2 separate regions of the Homo sapiens genome follow, and region 2 is linked to region 1. The links are contacts of gene promoters, found by promoter capture Hi-C in blood cells and fetal thymus (Javierre and others, 2016). All regions are on one chromosome and are shown on one strand. Each heading gives the region's core, a stretch centred on a gene start or on the middle of the fragment in contact. The rest is flanking DNA. Distances are from core to core; before and after follow the strand shown.

Region 1 (2,866 bases), core at 97-2,596:
AGACGGCAGCTCTCTAAGGTGATTGTTGTTTAGGCTTAGCGTCTCTAGTTTTTTCAGATTGCATATCTCATCAGGCAGAACAGCTGGCAAAGAAAAATTTTTTTAAAACCTGAATGTGATAGAGCTGAAAACAACTTTGATGAAGTTTATAAAGACTATATGGCAGCCTGCTTCGCCTCTTGTTAATATATGTAAAACTCCCACATGTGCCATTTTTAGATATTGCATTTTACCAACATAGTCTTTAGAAGGTGAGGGTGCCATCAAAATGCCGGAGAGCATTTGTGTGTATAATGGGCTCCTTTTGTAAAGGGGCCCAAGGCACAATCCGACAGCAATTTTGTGATATTTGGAAGATCCTCCCCTTCTCATCCATCCCCCATTCCAAGTTAGGTAGCTTTGTTTACATTACATCCCCAAAATGTTCTTCTCTTTCAAGTCCAAATTAACCCAGTAACAATCATTATAACACCCAATCATTATAAGGCTTATTTTAGATGTAATTACAAGAAGTAGAAAGAAGGCTTCAAGGATTCCGGCATTCGCAACTTGAGCCCTCCTGCACGGTTTCATAACAAAAACAAAAATCAGCTTGTAAGAGAAAACCACCCCTGGTAACAGCTGATCACTAGCAAAAGCCTCCCTGGCGAGAGCCATACTCAGTTTGTTGTTGTTCAGGGAGAGGCTCTTCAGCAGAGTGAACTTTCCTATCAGCAAAGGCGGTAGGCTTTCGATCTTGTTGTTGGACAAGTCGATGGTCCTGAGATTGCTCGTCAGCTTCTGCAAGTCTGCGGGGAACTGGAGAAAGGAGTTCACAGCGTGGGGAATCCCGCACCGACTAAGTTCGCCGCCCCCGCCGTCCCTCTCCCTTTAAGTTCCCTGGTCGTGTCCCTCCCAGTCTCACCTCGGTCAGCCCTCGGTCCTTAAGCTGAAAGACACCAGTTTTCTGCGCCGTTTCCACATGAGCGCGGAGCGCACTGTTTCCCATCCTAGCGCCGCGGCTCAGGTCCCTGCGGGAAGGAAGCGCTGCTGTCACCGCCCAGTCCACCCGGTCGGCCTCCCGGCTGGGGCTCCTGCCCCAGCTCTCAACTCCCGCCGATCCCTGGCTCCTGGGGCCCGACCCAAGAGCGACAAGGAAGAAACGGAAGAACACACAGCCCGACCACCAAGCCCTGCCGCCTTTGCAGCTCTGCGGAGGCCAGGCGCCTCTGGGAGCCTACGGAAGATCAGGGAGCCCCGGACTCGCCTCCCACCGCTCAGCTGCCGTAAGGCTCCGCAGGTGAAGACCCAGGACCCGCAGTAGCCGGGATGCGCTCCCCGGCTTAGTCCCGGGCGGGAACGCCCTGTGACGTCATCGAGCCGCGCCGTGCGTTCGCCCTGCGATCCCGCTCACTCTTGGCGCCTTCGCGGAAGGTGCGTCCGAGCCATGGCCGCTGCCAACCCGTGGGACCCGGCGTCCGCGCCTAACGGCGCTGGGCTAGTGCTAGGCCACTTCATAGCTTCGGGGATGGTCAATCAGGTACGTGGGGGTGGCGGTGGTGTCATCAAGGGGGTGCCCAAGGTGGCAACAATATGGCTGTGAGTTGGTGCTGCTGGCTGTGGGAGTGGTGAGGGTCCTGGTTGGGGTCTGTACTAGAGTAATAAGAGCCCCTTCCAGGCAACAGCCGCGAACGTTCTGCCGTGGATGCTTGGAAAGCGGGGATCTGAGTAGATGGTGTTTAGGGTAGACTGTGTTTTGAGTGTCTGTAGGGTAAATTTGTCCCAGTCCAGTTTGTGGGAGATTAGACTGTTACCAGCCTTTTTTTCATCCAGTGATACTGCCTCTAGACTGTAGTGTAAGGGCGGGGATGGGAAATACGGGTCGTTCTGTCCCCTTGCGGAACAAGCATTTCCAACAACCCTCGTTTGTGGGAAGTGTTGAATCGTATTTGGGGCGGGAGGTGCTGGGTAGAGAAGAGCGCCAGAAGCTCTTTTTTGACATTTTTATTTTATTTTATTATTTATTTATTTATTTATATGAGACAGAGTCTCGCTCTAACGCCCAGGCTGGAGTGCAGTGGCGTGGTCTCGGCTCACTGCAACCTCCGCCTTCCTGGTTCAAGCGATTCTCCTGCCTCAGCCTCTGGAGTAGCTGGGACTACAGGCGCCCACCACCACACCCAGCTAATTTTTTTTTGTATGTTTAGTAGAGACGGGGTTTCACCTTGTAAGCCAGGATGGTCCCGATCTCCTGACCTCGTGATCCACCCGCCTCGGCCTCCCAAAGTGCTGGGATTACAGGCGTGAGCCACCGCGCCCGGCCTTGGCATCTTTAAAGGCAAAAAAAAAAAAAAAAAAAAAAAAGTATTGGCTAAAAAGATAAGACCTTGGAACGTGAATGGAGGAAGAGATTAATTTTGAGAAGGAGAGAAAAGAGACATTAACCCAAGGAGTCACGGAGTGGCAGTTTTAGGTTGGGCAAGAGGAGCATGTCGGAGGAAGGAGCCAACAGAGGGAGAAATTGAACATGTGAGGAAATAATGGAATGCAGTGACAGGAGGGCATGGGGCAAGTGGGATCAAGGGCATTGAGAAAAATGGGGAAATAAATTTTGATATATAGAGGAAGTTGAGAAATTTCACTAAAAAGAAAACAGAAAAGTTAAACTGATCTGTAAAAATCAGCACATATTAGCCGGCATGGTGGCGTACACCTGTAGTCCCAACTACTCCGCGGACCACATGGGTCCTGGAGGCTCAGATGGGAAGATGGCTTGAGCTTAAGAGATGGAGGTTGCAGTGAGATGCGATCGGGCCACTGCACTTAGCCTGGGCGACAGAGTGAGACCCTGTCTCAGGGAAAAAAAAAAAAAAAAAAGCACTACAAA
Region 2 (2,866 bases), core at 243-2,742, 140 kb after region 1:
GTGGCCCAGGGTGGTGGCCCAACCCCTAAGTGGGAAGGGAAAAATGAAACTGGGCTTCTTGAAAAAGGTCTTCGTCCCAAAGATAGCTCAGAAGAGTTTAAGCTTCCAGGTACAAAGCCTGCATATGAAAGGTTCCAGTTAGTTGCATGCCCTCAGGAAAGAAACCCCAGTGAATGCAAGTCACAAGAAATGTTAAATCCCAACAGAGAACCTTCTGGAAAGAAACAGAATAAAAGAGTTAATAATACTGATGAAATGGCTAGGCTAATTAGGAGTGTAATGCAGCTGGAAAATGGCATCTTAGAAATTGAATCTAAGCAGAATAAGCAGGTTCATGCTTCCCACACACCAGGAACCGATAAGGAGTTGGTGTTCCAGGACCAGAAGGAGCAGGAGAAGACTGACCATGCCTTTAGGCCAGACAGCTCTGGAAACCCTTTGCCCTCTAAGGATCAGCCATCTTCTCCAAGACAGACAGATGATACTGTCTTTAGGGATAGTGAAGCTGGAGCGATGGAGGTTAACAGCATTGGGAACCATCCCCAGGTCCAGAAAATCACCCCAAACCCCTTCAGGTCAAGGGAAGGTGTACGAGAGAGTGAACCTGTGAGAGAGCACACCCACCCAGCTGGATCGGACAGACCTGCCAGGGATATTTGTGATTCTTTAGGGAAACACACAACTTGCAGAGAGTTCACCAACACTTCTCTTCACCCACAGAGAATGAAAGCATTGGCTAGAGCTCTGCCATTGCAACCCAGGCTAGAGAGGTCTTCTAAGAATAATGGCCAGTTTGTAAAAGCATCAGCAAGTCTCAAAGGGCAGCCTTGGGGCTTAGGAAGTCTTGAGGAATTGGAGACTGTGAAAGGTTTTCAGGAAAGCCAAGTAGCTGAACACGTAAGTAGTTCCAACCAAGAAGAGCCAAAAGCTCAAGGTAAAGTTGAAGAAATGCCTATGCAAAGGGGAGGCAGCCTTCAGGAAGAAAATAAAGTGACTCAGAAATTTCCTAGTCTCAGCCAGCTTTGTAGGGACACGTTTTTCAGGCAGGAAACTGTCAGCCCATTACTAAGCCGGACAGAATTCTGTACAGCTCCTCTTCACCAAGACCTGAGTAATACCTTGCCCTTGAATTCTCCAAGGTGGCCAAGAAGGTGTCTTCATGTACCTGTTGCTCTAGGCATCTCTTCACTTGACTGTGTGCTGGATCTCACAATGTTGAAAATTCATAACAGTCCCTTGGTAACTGGAGTAGAGCATCAGGACCAGAGTACGGAGACCAGAAGCCACAGCCCCGAAGGAAATGTTAGAGGGCGTTCCTCTGAGGCACACACTGCCTGGTGTGGGTCTGTGCGATCCATGGCCATGGGATCTCATAGTCAATCTGGTGTACCAGAGAGCATTCCTCTGGGGACAGAGGACAGGATCTCAGCAAGCACCAGCCCCCAAGACCATGGAAAGGACCTCAGAATCACCTTGCTGGGTTTCAGTACCAGTGAAGATTTTGCTTCTGAAGCCGAGGTGGCTGTACAAAAAGAAATAAGAGTCAGTTCACTGAACAAGGTCTCTAGCCAGCCTGAAAAGAGGGTCAGCTTCTCCTTGGAAGAGGATAGTGACCAAGCCAGCAAGCCAAGGCAGAAGGCAGAGAAGGAGACTGAGGACGTCGGACTGACCAGCGGTGTTTCCTTAGCACCTGTTTCCCTGCCGAGGGTGCCCAGTCCAGAGCCTAGGCTGTTGGAGCCCTCTGACCATGCATCCATGTGCCTGGCCATCTTGGAGGAGATCAGACAGGCAAAGGCCCAGAGAAAGCAGCTTCATGACTTTGTGGCCAGGGGCACAGTCCTTTCTTACTGTGAAACTTTACTAGAACCCGAATGTTCTTCAAGGGTTGCTGGCAGGCCTCAGTGTAAACAAATAGACCAGTCATCATCAGACCAGACCAGGAATGAGGGTGAAGCACCGGGATTTCATGTGGCATCTCTATCTGCTGAAGCAGGGCAGATAGATCTGTTACCTGATGAGAGGAAAGTCCAGGCCACATCTCTGTCTGCAGACAGCTTTGAATCTCTGCCCAATACGGAAACTGACAGAGAGCCATGGGATCCTGTGCAGGCTTTCTCCCATGCTGCTCCTGCTCAAGACAGGAAACGTCGTACTGGAGAACTGAGGCAGTTCGCGGGAGCAAGTGAACCATTTATATGTCACTCTAGTTCTTCTGAAATCATAGAGAAAAAGAAAGATGCAACCAGAACACCTTCCTCAGCTGATCCTTTGGCCCCAGACAGTCCTCGTTCTTCAGCACCTGTGGAGGAGGTCAGGAGGGTAGTATCAAAGAAGGTAGTGGCTGCCTTACCTTCTCAGGCCCCTTATGATGATCCTAGAGTGACTCTGCATGAGCTAAGTCAGTCAGTTCCGCAGGAGACTGCAGAGGGCATACCCCCTGGCAGTCAGGACAGCAGCCCAGAGCATCAGGAACCCAGAACTCTAGACACCACATATGGAGAAGTTTCAGATAATTTGTTAGTGACTGCACAGGGAGAAAAAACAGCCCATTTTGAAAGTCAGTCTGTGACCTGTGATGTTCAGAATTCTACAAGTGCCTCAGGGCCTAAGCAAGACCATGTCCAATGCCCTGAGGCTTCTACTGGCTTTGAAGAAGGTAGGGCAAGTCCCAAACAAGATACCATTCTGCCTGGAGCTCTGACAAGGGTTGCACTGGAAGCTCCCACACAGCAGTGTGTGCAGTGTAAGGAGAGTGTTGGGTCTGGGTTGACAGAAGTCTGCAGGGCTGGCAGCAAACATTCCAGGCCAATTCCACTGCCAGATCAAAGACCAAGCGCAAATCCTGGGGGAATTGGGGAGGAAGCCC

What was found. Contacts are between HindIII fragments. The CHiCAGO score rates a contact against its expected background, and 5 or more counts as called.
Region 2: a fragment that was not itself captured here is called in contact with the fragment with the promoter of LRRC57 in region 1 in 1 of 17 cell types (endothelial precursors); the score reaches 6.0 in endothelial precursors.

The regions. Positions count from the first base shown.
Region 1 is chr15:42,547,447-42,550,312 of GRCh38, forward strand. LRRC57 (leucine rich repeat containing 57) reads right to left here and starts at 1,347. Exons shown (of 6, transcript NM_153260.3): 1 at 1,247-1,347; 2 at 905-1,010; 3 at 660-798; 4 at 1-83. The coding sequence starts at 988. It overlaps HAUS2 (HAUS augmin like complex subunit 2), which reads left to right and starts at 1,392. Exons shown (of 6, transcript NM_018097.3): 1 at 1,392-1,519. The coding sequence starts at 1,427. RefSeq lists an enhancer at 1,183-1,652. The HindIII fragment of the contact is 3,855 bases long and covers 1-2,866 here.
Region 2 is chr15:42,687,462-42,690,327 of GRCh38, forward strand. STARD9 (StAR related lipid transfer domain containing 9) reads left to right here. Exons shown (of 33, transcript NM_020759.3): 23 at 1-2,866. Among named protein-coding and RNA genes, the nearest start is that of CDAN1, 48 kb to the right of the region's middle. The HindIII fragment of the contact is 2,785 bases long and covers 101-2,866 here.